4 separate regions of the Homo sapiens genome follow, and regions 1, 3 and 4 are each linked to region 2. Evidence: promoter capture Hi-C in 16 types of primary human blood cells and fetal thymus (Javierre and others, 2016). All regions are on one chromosome and are shown on one strand. The core of a region is centred on a gene start or on the middle of the fragment in contact, and the rest is flanking DNA. Distances in the headings are between cores, read along the strand shown. Region 1 has its middle 300 kb from the start of GTSCR1. Region 2 holds the start of CBLN2 (cerebellin 2 precursor). Region 3 has its middle 250 kb from the start of GTSCR1. Region 4 has its middle 30 kb from the start of GTSCR1.

The links. Contacts are between HindIII fragments. The CHiCAGO score rates a contact against its expected background, and 5 or more counts as called.
Region 1: a contact is called between a fragment that was not itself captured here and the fragment with the promoter of CBLN2 in region 2, in 3 of 17 cell types (M2 macrophages, M1 macrophages and endothelial precursors). The highest score is 12.3, in M2 macrophages.
Region 3: a contact is called between a fragment that was not itself captured here and the fragment with the promoter of CBLN2 in region 2, in 1 of 17 cell types (M2 macrophages). The highest score is 6.2, in M2 macrophages.
Region 4: a fragment that was not itself captured here is called in contact with the fragment with the promoter of CBLN2 in region 2 in 1 of 17 cell types (endothelial precursors); the score reaches 7.6 in endothelial precursors.

Annotation. Positions count from the first base shown.
Region 1 is chr18:70,948,524-70,952,834 of GRCh38, forward strand. No RefSeq gene overlaps it. Among named protein-coding and RNA genes, the nearest start is that of GTSCR1, 300 kb to the left of the region's middle. The HindIII fragment of the contact is 1,665 bases long and covers 1,958-3,622 here.
Region 2 is chr18:72,543,091-72,547,111 of GRCh38, forward strand. CBLN2 (cerebellin 2 precursor) reads right to left here and starts at 1,252. Exons shown (of 5, transcript NM_182511.4): 1 at 887-1,252; 2 at 396-440. The HindIII fragment of the contact is 3,863 bases long and covers 1,124-4,021 here.
Region 3 is chr18:70,894,954-70,899,079 of GRCh38, forward strand. No RefSeq gene overlaps it. Among named protein-coding and RNA genes, the nearest start is that of GTSCR1, 250 kb to the left of the region's middle. The HindIII fragment of the contact is 4,054 bases long and covers 1-3,496 here.
Region 4 is chr18:70,619,299-70,623,533 of GRCh38, forward strand. No RefSeq gene overlaps it. Among named protein-coding and RNA genes, the nearest start is that of GTSCR1, 30 kb to the right of the region's middle. The HindIII fragment of the contact is 654 bases long and covers 1,090-1,743 here.

The DNA of each region.
Region 1 (4,311 bases), core at 1,540-4,039, 1.6 Mb before region 2:
ACCCCAGAAATGGAAAGATATTCCATTTTCATGGATTGGAAGAAACACTGAACTTAATCTGCACTGTAGGCCAAATGGACCTAATAGAGAAGAATCAATATTGTTAAAATGTCCATATTACCCAAAGCAATTTATAGATTCAGCACAATCCCTATCAAAATACCAATGATGTTATTCACATAAATAGAAGAAACAATCCTAAAATTGGTATTTTCTGCATTATGTGTCCAAGGAATATCTTTGTGAGATATTGTATCAAGATGTTCAGGGTACTTAATTCTTTAAACAGTAAGCAATTGTCTATGAAATGACATTTCATTTTATTTTTTTAATCTAAACATCCCTTTTATGACCTGTAATGTGCTTGATAATTTGACTAGTATTCAGTTGTAATATATTTTTGCCTTAATTAACAATTCACAATTATACTATAAATAAGGAGAAAAAGACATGTTATGAATGAAACTACTAAAAAACTAATTATTTATATTAGGCATAGATAATACATTATCAGCATAGTTGAGACTCATAAAGCTGTGTTAGGCATACACACTTTGTATGTAAATAGTATGTAAGATATAAACAGAATTCATAAAATGTGTACATTGATGATTAAGTTCCTTACCTATGAGACATATTAGACAAGAAATAAAATAAGATTCTATATGTTGAATATAAATAGAAGGAAATGGAATGGCCCAGAGGAAGCTAATATTCAAAACACACAAATTCTTTAAACAGTAAGCAATTTCCTATGAGATGCAGTTGATGCACCTGAAGCACTCAGTATTCATGACATCTTAAAGTGACCGCCCTCTGCTAACAACCATTATGATTCCATCTTACCTACACCTGTCTTTTGTCCAAGAAACTTATATAAAATTCATAGCTCTTCTTCCAGGTAAACTTGAGAAGAGATTCAGATTAGTACTACTAATGAATGATGTTTTCATTGGGTAAGATAATTCCGTGTAATATTGAGAGCTTTACAATACTTCTTCCGCATATTATAATTTTGTTTGCTAGGCACTTTTCTTTCTTGACACCTTTAATTGTTGCATTCATAGAATATATATTTCTCTGTACTTTTTCATCTTTTTCTACCATTACATTCTAGGGAATGCCATCTTTCATATCTATGAATCTCAAATCTCCACCTCTAGTCCCAATCTTGCCCTTGAGGTCCAGAGTCATGCATTCAACTGCTTCTGCACTTGTTTGTCTGCATGCTCCTCAGGAGTCTCTATTCTAGATGCCCAAACTCAATGTGTCATTTGCTTGTTCCCCAGCCTCCTATATCCCCTCGTTATTCATCCTCCAAAGTTACTTCTCTCCTATATTACTTTCTTCTGTGGAAGGTGCTGAAGTTAAGAACCAATGAGGAACCATAGATTTCTCTTTTCCTTTTCTAGAATGCCAAACTAAATATTACATCCTGTAAATTTCACTCCATAACTGTTTCTCAAAATTTCCCTCATGGTATGTGCCTATTTGCCTTAAATTACTATTTCAATATCCTTAATCTGGAATGTTTTAAGAGTTTTCTTATTGATACCTTTCCCTTTCATAGTGTTTTCTTCCAAAAACTATAATGTACACTGTTGCCAGTGTGATTTTCCTAAAATAAAAGTTTGATATTATACTTTCTGCCCCACATTGAGCTTATAGCTCTCTGCCCTACTGAAAACTCCCTGAGGATTCACATTGCTAACAATATGAAAGCCAAGTTTCTTCGTATAAATAACAAGGCTCCCCATTACCTAGTCCCTACTTTTTGCTGCAAATTTTTGTCTTTTTTTCTCCTTGCCCTGCAACATCAAGCAACACGGAAAGACTTGAAGTTCCTTGAACACTGTATGTTTATTCATCTATTGATGCTGTTCTCTTTGCTAGAATCCCTTATCCCCCTTCCCTCCCATCTGCCTGGTAAATTTGATTGGCTTTAAGTCCTCTCCAAAGCTTTCATTGTATGTCCTGATAATTAATAATCTTCTATTCATGTTGCCTATACACTTTCATCATTGAACTTCTCACCTTGTATTGTATTCCTTTTCCTTGTAATTATAATGTTATAATTATCTGTTCACTTAGTTGATTGTGAGGTGCTGACAGTAAGGACTGTGTTTTCTTCATTGTAATATACTGAGTGCCAAGAATAACGTAGCATCTCAGCAAATATGTGTTAAACATTTGAGCTGATGATGGTCTCTGGAGAAAAAAAAGAGACATTAGCAAATTTAACTAACAGAAGAGCCATATTTTCCAGGTCTGAAAGGAATCATGCACCTTATTCTGTGCAAAATCTTTCCTGAGATGTTCTTAAAGATTATTTTAAGCTATTTTTATTAATTATGGTAAAAAGTAACATGAAGTTTACCATCTCGACCAGTCTAAATGTACAACTCAGTAGTGTTAGGAATATTCACATTGTTGTGAAATGTGTATGCAGGAAGTTTTCATCTTGCAAAACTCAAACTCAGTACCTATTAAACAACTCCTCTATTACCACAACAAGGATGAACATATGCCATGTGAAATAAGCTAGTCACAAAAAAAATAAATACTGGATGATTCCACTTATATGAGTTGGAAACAGGAAAATTCATAGAAATAGAAAGTAGAATGGTGATTAGCAGGCTCTGCGAGTAGGGATAATGGAGGAGTTGGCATATGTTGCCAGAATTCATCCTTGTTGTAGCAGGTGACAGGATTTCTGTCTTATTTAAAGCTGAATAATATTTCTTCATAGGTATACACCATTTATGTTTTGATAGATGTTTGTGTTGCTGATACCATTTGGCTGTTATGAATAGTGCTAGTATGAACATGGGTGTGCGAAAACATCTCTATTCAAAACCCGGCTTTCAATTATTTTAGATATAAGTCCAAAGATGAGATTGCTTGATCATTTGGTAATTTTATTTTTAACTTTTTGAGGAATCTCAATATGGTTTTCCATACCAATTTTGCCATTTTATCATCCCACCAAGAGCATACAAAAGTTCCAATTTCTTCATATCTTCCCCTGTTTTTTTTTTCATAGTAGCTATCCTGATGGATGTAAGGTGATGTTAGAGTTTTGATTTGCATTTCTATGATGATTAGTGACACTGGGCATCTTTTCATAGCCTTGTTGACCATTTGTGTATTGTCCTTGGAGAAACGTCTATTCAAGTCTGTTGCCTGCTTTCTAATTGGGTTGATTTTTGTGTGTGGATGAGTTGTAGGAATTTTTTATGTACTCAGTATATTAACACCTTATCAGATATATAATTTGCAAATATTTTCTTCATTCCATAGGTTGCCTTGTCACTTAAAGATAATTTTAACACTATTCATAGCAAATTTTATAAAGTTCATAAAAATGTATGCACTGTGTGCATTTGAGTAGTTGAGACTTCGGAAGGAAAGTGAGCTGTTAGACGTATTTGGGAGTTACTGCATCATACTGCATTTCATCAGATGATACAAGTTTTGCTTCTATCACTTTTATTGAAGGTTTTTAAAAAATTCCTGCTCACTGTACTGCTTAGATGAAGTAGATGGCAGTGCAACTTGTGTTTTGATATTTAAAAAATTTTATGGAAGTGAATAGGAAAGGAAGAAGGACACCCAAAATGGAAGCTTGAGATGTTGACATCCATGGCATTTGTGGGCTACACAGGAACTGAGGCTCTTCAGGCTGGGGAGAATGGGGAAAAATATTTTAATGCCCTATATAGAAATGATTTTTCAAATCCTATCAAGGTAGTTGGTGCTATTTCTAATGGAAAGTATCTTCACTCTGGCTTCTGCAATGTAATCTATTTCCTCAGCTGAACTAACTTCTCTATTTTCCTTTGTCCCTCACCCCTCCTTTTGTGGGTGGGACAGGGAGCCTTTTTCCTAAATCTTCTTGTGTCAGTCATGGTGTTCTGAGCCAGCTTCTCCCTGATTTGTCTTCCCCTTAAGAATTTTATTCTAGCTCTAATACACCAGTGTTTCCGTCCAGTATCCTATTTGACTCCTGGCTCAGGTTCTGGAACCAGGAACCTTTCTGTCTCACTCTTTTTAAGTGAATTCTCAAATTTAGAATCCCATTTCTTCCCAACTTCTCCCACATATTGCTCAGTGTTCATCTGTAGAGAAAGGGTGCCTGACAGAGCAAGCATGTCCCTTCTATCATCTTCCCACTTGCCTAAGGATTCCCACATGTGGCCATCAGAATTCAGCCAGAAAAACACAAGCTGATGTATGTAGTCCAGCAATAAAGGGCTTAATAAAGGAACAGGGGTATTATGGTTTGGCTCTGTGTTCCCACCCAAATCTCAT
Region 2 (4,021 bases), core at 2-2,501:
TCCAGCTCTGGTTTCCAGACCACGGGGATTCTCTCTTTCTCAGCGGGGCGGCAGCCCCTGCAGGTTTCTGCGAACTTACGCGCCCGTCTGCACTTTTGCCCCGTCCCCGCTCCTCCCAGGAAAGCAGACAGGCCATTTCAATACCAGCCCAGAGACACGCAGAGAAGCCGCCCCCTCGCCGCCCACAGCCTCCCATTAACTCTTCCAGTATTCTTTCTAAGAACAGAGAAGTTGGCTCTTGATAAATATCCGCTGTCCGCAGCCCCGATCCTACATGATTTCCCTTCTCTCTCTCCACCTCCTCCACCCCTCGATCTGGACCAGGGAGAGTCTTCGTTAAAATCCACGCAGAAGGCGCTTGCATGCGGAGGGGAGGGCAGGTCGGGGGTGGTTACCTGGAACATCCATGCTGGGCGAGCTCCGCTGTCCGCGAAGTTGCTCTGCTTAGAGAAAATGAGGCGAGTGGGAGCTGTCGGGAGGAGGACACGGAGCGCGACCCTGCTCCCAGCGCGTGGCCAATAACCGCGCCGCCCCGCCCTGCCGCTTTCCCGCGCCAGCCTGCGCCGCTTCAGGGGTGCACCACGCCCCGCGCGCCCGCTTAGGCGCCGCGCCCGGGACCGGGAACCCCGCGTCTCGCCCGGCTCAGCGCCCCGCGCTGTGCGCCCAGGTGCCTCCAACCCCTGGGCTTCGCGCCCGCACCGCTGCCTGGGGCCCCTCGAGCTCCCGCGCTCAGCGCGTCCGCAGCGCGGCTCCCTCGCGGGTCCCCTCGGCCCCGCAGCCCCGCCAGTCTCCAGAGGGCATAGCCGAGCGCTGCCGCCTCCCTAGGACTCGGAACCTTCCCTGCTCCCAAGCCCGCCGCACCCTCCAACGCCCCGGTCCTGCTCACCCAAACGCCCAGAGCAAAATACTCCCAGACGTCTCTTTTGAAAATTAGACACCCTTAAAAGCACCGGTCGCTTCTCTTCTTTTAGATTCTTTCTTTTCTTTCCCCAATTCCCTCCAAGTCTTAATATTGAATGGCGTGACCACTTTCATAATGACAGGAGCGAAAAAAACAATAAGTTAAAAAAAAAAAAAAGAAGAAGAAGACTGGGATGGCTGGGACGAAGAGAGGGAAAAAAAAAGCTTGAGAATTTGATGATTTAGGAGCTGTGGTTCCAGAGTCCCAGTTGGGGAACTGTCCGGTTCCCGCAGGGCTAGAAGAGGGGCCTCCGGCCCGGGTCTGTGTGTCTGCTCCTCTGGACCTCGGACTGGTGGAGCGGCTGGCGCTTGCGCTTATTTATTAAATTGCGGTGTCCGCGCTCGCTCAAAGGACCCGGGGAGACGCGCTGGGTTTCCCAGCTGCGCCTGGAGCTCGGCTGAGGGCGCAAACACGGACGTGGGGCGCCACCTGCGGGTGCCCGGGCCTCCCTGCCGCAGGCTGCGGACCGGCGGACTCCGACAGAAGACGGGGGAGTCCTGGCCGCAAGGCTGAGGTTTGCTGATGGTCTTCTTTCACCCCAAAAGCAGCGCTGACCTCTGCAATAATAATAATATAATAATAATAATAATGATAGCAACCACAAGAAGAACAATAATGACCAGTCTTCCCGGTATCCTTCAGTACTTTTACTCCTGGCAAAACCAAGCAGCACGCCGCCTGATTTTCCGGATCTTCACTGATCTAACAAACAACTCTGCCAAGATGATAAATGCTGCGGTGAGGTTATCATCGGTTATTATCGTCGGCACAACGTTTGCACAGACAACTGGGCCGTATAGTTTATGCTGGTCTAAAAAACAATCAATATTTAAATCTACACTCTATAGCCTGATTTTTTTTTAAAACATGGTTAAAAAATACTTTGTCCTTTGACATGCATTATACGTCTTTTCTGATAGGCTAATAATAATAATAATAATAATAATAATAAAGTTAGCCAGTGCTGTTCATTAGAGCATCTGTATTTCTTATTCCTCCAGACTTCACACCGAACCCTCTCCCCTTTGAAGATTTCAGCAGTGTCTGATTCCACCTTAACAAACGGAGGTCTTTTCAGGTAGGGGGTTTTGAAGGCCTTATTTTCCCATAGGCCCTCTCACCGCTATTCTCCCCATTTAGAACAGAACTGCCAAGGCATCATCTCTAAGCACTGGAGATGAAATTCACGATCAGTTCAACTGGAATGGATATGCAGAAAGTCATTGCACACTGCTGCGTGAGACAAAATATTTAGTATGGGTGTAAGGATGTGATTAAAAGTACCTCTGAGCCAAATGCTTCCTGGTTAACCTAGCATGCAAAATAGTAGAAAATATACAATACTTCCAAAATCTCTCATCCTCCTAAGCTATACTCACTGTAAAGTAAATGTCATACTTCAACACTTTTGTACCATGCTGGAGATAGGTACTGGCATTTGCCAGGATGCTTTTTCAAATCCACCACAGTTTGCCATGTTTTGTTACCATTTTTGTGAGTTTAACAGAGTGGAAATGCACTCTTACTTTCAAATAGTTATTTTATTCCACTATTTCATCCATGTGATAGTGTCTTACTGTCAAAATAAGCCCCCATCCATCATTCCACCATAGAGAGAACTGATTTAAGTGTAAGCATAGATAGCAAAGAACACTAGATATTTGAAAGACATGTGAGACACAGACATAATTAGACCAATCTGGGGATGCTAATTTATAGCAATACCTCTCACACATCTGTAAGTCCTTAAATAGCAACTCTACTCAGCATCTTTCCTCAATACTGTAAGCATTCCTTTTGACTAATATAAATGCAAGCACACATGAACTATCGTCATCAACACTGGGGGAAAAAAGAAAACCACTTTCTATGTGGCAACATAAATGTTTAGATTATATATATGTAGAGACACCTTTAATCTATGTGACTTATTGGACTAAGTTATTGAAAAAAGCTATAAGCATTCTTATATAATAAACAGGTTAGGTTTAATTTAGACTAGAGATTATTTTAGAAGAAACCATAAAAGATAGCAAATTGACAGAGAAGCAGATTATTTATTCATTGATTAATTAGTTGTTTCACATAAGAAGATATTAAAGTCGGCCGGGCGCGGTGGTTCACGCCTGTAATCCCAGCACTTTGGGAGGCCGAGGCGGGCGGATCACGAGGTCAGGAGATTGAGACCATCCTGGCTAACACGGTGAAACCTTGTCTCTACTAAAAATACAAAAAATTAGCCGGGCGTGGTGGCGGACGCCTGTAGTCCCAGCTACTCGGGAGGCTGAGGCAGGAGAATGGTGTGAACCTGGGAGGCGGAGCTTGCAGTGAGCCAAGATCGGGCCACTGCAGTCCTCCGGCCTGGGTGACAGAGCGAGACGCTCTCTCTCAAAAAAAAAAAAAAGATATTTAAGTCAAGTGTTGGAATTTTAGCTTGTAAATATGCTTAGAAATTTTTTAAGAAAATGTCTAAGATTTAAAAGCAAAAGTTTTTCTAGTTATCTCAGGGATTCCTTTTTCTCTCCCTTTTCCATGTTAATAATTGTTGCTATTACTACTAGAACATTAATAGTGGACATTCCCACAGACAATAACAATGACAGCCATTTATGGAACACCTGTGGTGTGTGAGATATTGCACCATGTCTTTTGTCTGGGATATAACACGATTTAACACCCACAGCAACCCTGTGGTAAAGACAGGTGTTCACACAGAGCTGAAGAGGAACATATTCTAATATTAGGGAAAAATGTGGGAAGGGAAGACGCTGGGATAATTCAAGTACCCTTCCTCTCATTTTTTCTAAATATCTGTCTCTCATGGAACTTAAATTTGAGTTCTTTGGGTATAACCTATCTCTGAAATGCATCTTCAGCGTGCATTATAGATTTGCTGTTGGATCCATCAATTCCACTACTGAGTATCTACTCAAAGGAAAAAAATCATTGTATGGAAAAGGATACCTACACTGCTAGGTTTACTGCAATACTATTCACAGTAGCAAAAATATGGAATAAATCTAAGTGTCCATTAACAGATGATTTGATAAAGAAAGTGTC
Region 3 (4,126 bases), core at 220-2,719, 1.6 Mb before region 2:
CTCTTTCTGCAAAACCAATTTTAGGTCCTCTTTCCGTGGTTGTGTGTGTGCATATGCTGGTATGCATAAATTGAGAGAAGCAATATAATGTTTAAAATCAAAAGCTCCAGACACAGACTGCCCTCTTGAGTCCTAGTTCCATCACATCAAGGTCTTGATCTTGACATGTTGTTTAACCAGTCACTTCACTAGTTACCTCTTCTCTAAAGAACATGGTAGAAGGGCCTCCCTCATACCATTGCTTGGATAATTACATGTTTATAAATACATGATGTATAGCAAAATGACTGGTACATAGGAAAATGTTTCAATAAACACCAACAAATATGTAAGTGTCCTCTCCTCCTTTTAGCTCAGGTAATCAAAAAATAATAATAATTGACTGTGTCTTATTTCCAACTAGTTAAATAAGAAATAAAATAAGAATAAACATTTTCTTTACAGCCTTGTTACATTCATTCAATTCTTCATCTGGTGACAATTTTAGAACTGGTTGTAGGAAAAAAAAAAAAAAAAGCAGTCACCTATGAATCAATGCTATCCAAATAATCTAAGTGACTGGGTGTGCAATTCCAACTTTGTCTGATCACACCACTTACCAATAACTGAATCTGTAGAAGCAGTATCTGTCAGGTAGAAGGGATAAAAATAGTACAAGAAATTCTCATTTACTTTCACATTGGAGGAGTAGTTCTCACAAGACACTTGAAGAAAAAACATGACCAGTTTTGTATTGCCAGTGGAGGAAACTCTCTGTGGTATCCTTGGAAGAGGTTCACGTTTGGATGTGTGTGCCACCTGTCCTTGGTTTCAGAACTGTGAATGTCCAAACTTCAAATGATTTTCTCCTTTATTACCAGAACTTTAACTTCTGTGCTGTGAATGTCCCATACCAAGGCTGAGCCAGCTGCATTCTCATATGGAAAAGCATACTCAACAGAGAGATGACTTCTTTCAGCTTTTAATCAAACCACCTATGGGAATTTGGAGGAATTTTTATGTTTAAATTCTTACTCATACAAGTATAAATCTAAAACCCTCTTTAAATCTTTGCTTACAAAACTTGGAGGCTTTCACACTGTTTAACTTAATTCTACTTTATGTTGTAAATTTTACCATTTATTTTATATGAGAGTATGTTCTAGAGCTGTGCTGTCTTATACTCTAGATACTAGTCATGTGTGGCTACTTATATTTAAATATAAATCAATTAATTATAATAAAATACAATTCCAAATTCAGTTTCTTAGTCATGGTAACCATATTGCAAGTACTTAACCACATGTGGATAATGGCTACCATATTGGACATCACAGATAGAACATTTCCATCACTGTAGAAAGTTCTACTAGCCCATGATGAAATTCTAGAGCTTATGGACTTGAAATCAGGAACTGTATTTTATACTTCTTTTAAATATAATCCTACAACAAAGACACTTTTAAATATAATCCTATCACAAAAACAACATGTAATATTCATCAAGACATTTGTTGGTTGAATGATATCTTGCAGAATTTCTCCTTTTCACCGGATCTTGCTCAACTTCCACAAAACCAAACCTCAGTGTGGCCCATTACCTGAAGTTTTGGTCATTACTATCCTTCCAAAGAATTATCTCTATGCTCTTTTCCTAGATAAACTCTGGCTTTGTCCCATAGATCCCACAGATCTCCCTGTAATCCTTTTTTAGCCACCACCTCCTCCTCTTTCTTTTCTATGCATTCTTCAGGTTCCTCACTGAATACAGTGCTTGTTTTAGGGTTGAGAACAATTAGAATGAACTCTAGGTGTTTCATATGAGGTGCTTTTCCTGCAAGACCTGCACATGATATGATAACGAGGTTTGGGATGCTACAGACTTTTTGCTACCAGGTGGAATCTAATGTCAACCTGCAAAGGCTAGCAAAAGAGAACTTAAGAGAAATCCAACTTTTTTTTTTGAATTTATTATTTTTTTTTAGATGGAGTCTTGCTCTGTCGCCCAGGCTGGAGTGCAATGGCGTGATCTTGGCTCATTGGAACCTCCATCTCCTGGGTTCAAGCGATTCTCCTGCCTCAGCCTCCCGAGTAGCTGGGATTACAGGCATGCATCACCATGCCCAGCTAATTTTTGTATTTTTAGTAGAGACGGGGTTTTGCCATGTTGGCCAGGCTGGTCTTGAACTCCTGACCCCAAGTGATCATCCCACCTTGGCCTCCCAAAGTCCTGGGATTACAGGCATGAGTCACCACGAGAAATCCAACTTGTATATGACTTGAGCCCTTAAATCTCTGAAGCCAGCACTATCACAGTTTTTCAAATTCATGAGTCAATACATTCTGTAGATTTCATAGGTTGTTCTATTACTTAAAATAAAAATACCCTAAATTATACACTCTCTCTGTTCACTCATCTCTTGGAGACAATTTCAAAATCTCTCTCTTTACTCCAACTACTACTATAATTATAGGAGATTTTAGGAAATAGTGGCTGGAACTTTCTATTCTTTAAAAGTTGTCTAATAACCTCAGAAATGGTAAATATTAAAAGTTCATTGTATTAACACAACCACCCTAATATTCCAGGGCTCTGTACAATATTTGACATCAGAGTGATTTTTCCACCTAGTGACTATCAATATCTCCAAGCCGTATCTTTGTCTCTCCTTTGGTTTATCCATGAACATTCATGATTCTATTTTTTTAATGATACAAACTATATTTTTTCAATTGTCTTGGCAACCACTTTTCACTGAATAGTCTAGTTAAATCATAACTTTTGAGAAATGAAATAATTCCCTTTCTCTACTCTGATAGTTCAGGCCCTTTGTGGTTGAATTCTGTTCAGCTAAAACACATGACCCTACAGACAAGGGTCTTGCCTTAGATTGGTCCTCAGTTAAACCTTGAAAAGTTTTACCTCTTATTTGCGCGAGCAACTATCTCAAATTTTTGCCCTGCTCTTCAAAACCCAAACTCAATCCCTACTCCCTTCATCCTCAGCAGATTATCTTTTTACTACTTCAGTAAGAATATTGGGGCCTTCAGCAATAATCCTGCTTCTTTCCCACCCCCTACGTTTAATTTAATTTCCATAAGATCATCTTTACCTTCATTATGTCATGACCAGAGTGTGAGCTGTGTCTTCCTATTTAAACCCACCTCCAACTTTCTCCACAATAATACTCTATTATTCATCCCCTCTCTCATATATATTTAACTTCTTCCTTTCCACTCAGTATTCCCCCTCAGGCTGTACACATGGTTGGTCCTTTGCCTGAAAAAAAAAGTTCACAGTCAGGAATGAGGGATGAGATCGAAGAAGGAGATGGGGAGTCAGATCACTCAAGGCATTCTATATGATATTTGGGAGCTTATACTGTTTGGGGGGATGAAAACCACTGCAAGGATTCAAGCAGGGGTGGACATGGCCATATTTCACATTAGCATTCTAGATGATTACTCTAGCTTTTCTGTGGGTGATGGATTGTAAAGTTGTAACTAGTATACCAAAAGCTTATTTTGCAATAGACTAGGTGTTGCTGAATGTTACTAGGTTTTCCTAAAAACCATTGCTTATGGACAAGCAAATATTCATCTTTGGCTTAAATAAGCTTTTAAGTCTCAATCTTTCATCAACTCAGCCTCTTTAGTCAGAATATTCTTTATTTCCAAACAGTTGTAAGCAGGTGGCTCATTTAGCTTTCTATTTGTTCATCAGGTGATAAGTTCATGTTTATGTTCTGGTATAGTACCTGGGTGGTAAGAAGATGTTTCTGCACAAGTATCTGCTTCTCATTCCTGCCCCAGGAGTTCCAGTACACTGTCCAGTCTAGTGCTAAATCCTTATGGGGATGCTGTGAGACCCTAAGGATTCCTTGCTCATGTAGTCATTTAACTAAAGGTATGCTGTAGTTGCCTCCTTTCACCCCATGGTTGAGGGAGGCATTCCAGCCCTGGGTTTATGTGGATGGCTAAGCACAAGACATCCAATACTGGGAAGATGGGACTGACGAGAGTATGAGTCCCATATACTTAGAGCCTAGGGAAAAAGAGACTGCATCCGTGCAGGACCACACAGAAGCTGCGCTTGGGAAAGCAATGAACAACTGGAGGCTGCAGGAGGGAGGCCCTGTAGTATCAA
Region 4 (4,235 bases), core at 167-2,666, 1.9 Mb before region 2:
CCCAGAAATGACAAAATTCACAGCAAGCCAACAGGCAAGGGAGTCTCTGGGAAACGTAGTTTTCAGACTTCTAGTGCTAGTGTCGTAGAGCCAATTATATAAGAGGGCATATGGGTTTGAAAGCCAACAGGTACATATTGAAACAACCTACCTTTTTGGCACTAGGAATCCGTACACAGCCTTTTATTCATAAGCAAATTTCCATCTTACGCCAATAAAAAAATCGTCTTCCTAGCAAGATGCAAAGATAAAAAGATCTTTGTATTTATTTATTTATTTTTGAGATGGAGTCTCACTCTGTTGCCCAGGCTGGAGTGCAATGGCGTGCTCTCGGCTCACTGCAATTTCTGCCTCCCAGGTTCAAGTGATGCTCCTGCTTCAGCCTCCTGAGTAGTTTGGATTACAGGCATGCACCACCATGCCCAGCTAATTTTTTTTTTTTGTATGTTTAGTACAGATGAGGTTTCACCATGTTGGTCAGGCTGGTCTCGAACTCCTGACCTTGTGATCTGCCTGCCTCAGCCTCCCAAAGTGCTGGGATTACAGGTATGAGCCACTGCGCCTGGTCTATTCTTTATACAGATGATCTAACTTCTGTCTGGACCAAAGGAGTGGATTAAATGGAGATGTAAAATTAATGATCCGTACTGCCTCTTTCAAGTCTTTTATGGTATTTTTATGGTGCGACTAAATTCATAAGTTTCCCCAAGGGCATAATATTGCTTTGGTTTTACTATTTGGTAGCAATGTGGTGATATCTCAGGGCCATCCACTTGGTCCTTCTTAGCTTAGGTCATGCAACCAAGGTGAGGATTCCAGCTGCTGCTAAGTGTGTATAACCCATTATACCTTCAGCAACTGTACACATTCCAGCAGGGTGGGTCTGTGGACCTATTATGAGAAAGACTTGGGCTAAAACTCCATTATTATCTAAACTGTGTAAGTTTCCCCTCTGACAATAAACCACCATGACTTTCCCTAGAGATTAGTGTCAGTGCAGAGCAAGTGTTTAGTAAATTCTAAAATCTGGGCCATTCTGTCTACCCAGTGTATAGCTGCTCAAGAATATGACACAGGTCCTTTTGAGGAAGCTTAGACAAAGGATTGATAATGGACACCAGTGACAATGTAGCAGGATTCAAACTCAAAAGAAGTCAGCTTCCCCTCCAATAAAAGGACTCTGCCTCTGTGAGATGGTCTTGTTCTGATACTGGGTAAAAGACTGTGACCCTCTGTTGTCCTCACTCGAGTTAGTTTCTGCTCACCAGACTGGAGACTATCCAATTACACAGGCCAGGTAACAATCCAGTAGGCAGCTCATCTCTCTCTTTCCTGAGTCTATTGGGTACCACCAATGATCCCTGTGAGTTGTGAAAGAAATCAAATATGTTACCACCAAATGTACTTCTTTGACACCCTTTGAGATGGTTATTCATTGAGCCAGCAAACAGAAGTGGCTCTGCAAAGCTGTCTTTTGTGGGGAGAGTGGCATCTGCAGAGACTCTGCATTGATGCAGCCAGGTCTCCCCTTGTCCAGATCTAGGAAAGATTAACTGAGTCTGATACTCTTAAAGGTCAGAAAGAAATATTTACCATCCTTTGTCTCTGAGGGCTGCTACCTGTGAGGTTTCAGTTATGTAACAAGGCCACCTTGCTAGCCAGACTTCCTCTTCTCTTTCTCCCATAACTTGTTTTGCCATGATCAAAGCCCCCATTCACTCTGTAATTTCAAGATGGTATATAAGCTTCTACACCCTGTTAGGTGAAGGGGAGGTTTTCCCTTGGCCCCTACGGCTGAAACATTCACATTGCCCTTCTGGCTCTATGGCCTACTACGTGCCCACCTCTCAAATCTGTATTACAATGTACTATTTAGTTTTTAGCATAATCCTCAGCCCTAAATGCATTCTGACTATAAGATGTGAGGTTTTTATTTGTTTGTTTTAGAGCTACCTTAAACAAACAAACAAATGAAAACCCTTACATCTTCACTACTGTAGACATTCTTTGATTTTCTGACCATACCTTGAACTGAGAGTTTAACCTCTGAGTGTATCCTTTTCTTTCCCTGTATCTTGAGTGCATTTAGAAGTAACTGCCCCACACTGTAGCCCTTTGAATCATCAGTACTAAAAGTTACAGTTAAATGAAGTGGCCACTTGCTTTCCCAAAGCCTTGTCTTTAGCAGAATTTTGACCTCAAGCTACAAGAGGTGATTAAGTCATTATAATGCCACTTCAAGTCTCAGTTTACTAGATACCTATTTTCTGCTGCAAATAAGGAGGTCATTCTATGCAAGCTTGAACAGGTCAACAGATCAATACTGGAATTCAGTTTTGAGTGATTGTTTCCTGGGATCACTACCGGTACTGACTGCTATATAAGTCAGGGTCTTTTAAAGGAAATAAAAACCTAGATATTCTGCAAGGAGGTTGCTTAATCAAGAGAATAGCTTAAAAAATATTGGAGGAGATGAAAAAACAGAAAGTGGGCAGCAAGAGCTTGGTAACAGCAGGAAGCTGTTATTGCCCACAGATCTCAGGGAGGAAAAGGGAGGAGCTGTTGTTATCAGAGTCGAACACACACATGCTGCATGCTGCAGGGGGTCCTGAATGGGTGCTGAAACTTGTAGGAAGGGGCACCTGACCACAAGGACACCTTAGCCAGTGCTGGCACCGTGGAGGAGGGGCCTCAGAGGAGTGCCAGCAACACAGCAACTTCCAGAGACCCCGCCCGAGGCACAGGCAGGCAGAGAGAAGTAAAGAGGGAGGGAGGGAGAAAGGACAAAGATATTTCTCATTTGCTAGCCTTCTGTTTTCCTGCTGCTGCCTCCTATCCAACAGGAGGCCACATCACGAGGACACCGGAGAAATACTTATGGCTTTCTGGCTTCAGCCTTACTAAGCAGAGAACTGATATGTAGAAGTGAGCTAAGAGACCAGTAAAAACTGGTACAGACAGATTTATATTGACAAGTGAACAAACAAAAGGTATGAGCATATCTCTATTTGCTGTCATACCTGAAAATGTCCATTATTTGTGTTTTAACCCCAGAATAATTTCTTGGAGCATTTTTGATGGAATTATAATGACATAAAGAATACAGAGGAACAATAATTTAAAGATATACATATATCAAATATATGATATCTCTGTATACCCATATCAAATATATCTATATAATATATAGATATATATGACAGAAATATATATGTACAACTACAACAAGCTGTGAGAGATCATTTTCCAAATGGTCACATTTTAAATCATTTGAACGTGCATTGCCATGGCCACAATGACTGAAGGAACAGGAAATATTCCTAAGTAGTTTTTATTCTCTTTTGAGTGTTACATGTTAGCTGTCCGGAAAATGTAGAAGAGTTGTCTACACTCAGACCTTATATAGCATTAAGAACCCATTCAGTCCTCCCTGGTCTTCCTGTGCTGACTGGTTTTATTAGAAGCTGGATAATGATCAAGATCACAAGGAAGCCTGCAGGAGGAATAGCATGCCTTTATGCACACATAGGCATAATGACATCAGACACAGAAGGGACCTAGCAAGCCAGCGTGGACAGTTCTAAAGACCAAAGATATATATTTTTTCTTTTGTAAAAAAAATGAGAAGATCCTTCCAAGAAAGAGGTCCCCCTGACAAAAATAATTCATAGCTTTAGAAGTGAGAAAGTCATCTATCACTGGAGCAGTGTGGAGCCCTGATGCGTGAGGCAGTCATCCCAAATCATTCCAGGGAAATCATGTACTTTGGAGGTAACGTACATTGCACATCCATACAGACCTTTGCAGATTGCAGATCATTGCCACTCACATCATGTGTTTTATGGCTTACGACAATCTCGTGGTGTACACATCAGCACTCCCTTTTACAAGATGGGAGCTGTTAAAGAGACTACGTTCATGTCCCAGATCACAGAATGAGAGCATCGGGTATTTACACTTCGTCTTCTGACTCAGGCCCATCATGCCAGTGTCCATCTGTTCTGCTGATGGTCTCTGCATCTTTGTGCCTTCCTCTGCTGAGTCACTGCCCAGGTCAGGCTGTCTTCATGCTCTGCCATGGCTACTGCCCAGCTTCCTCACTAATCTCTTCACCTTCAGCTGTGACACCTCCAGTGCTCCAGATGGGGGAAAAATGACTTGGTCGTATTACTCACTTGTGTCCTGTTACCTCCAGAAAAAAGGCCCACTCCTTGGTGTGGCTGATACTGGGGTGC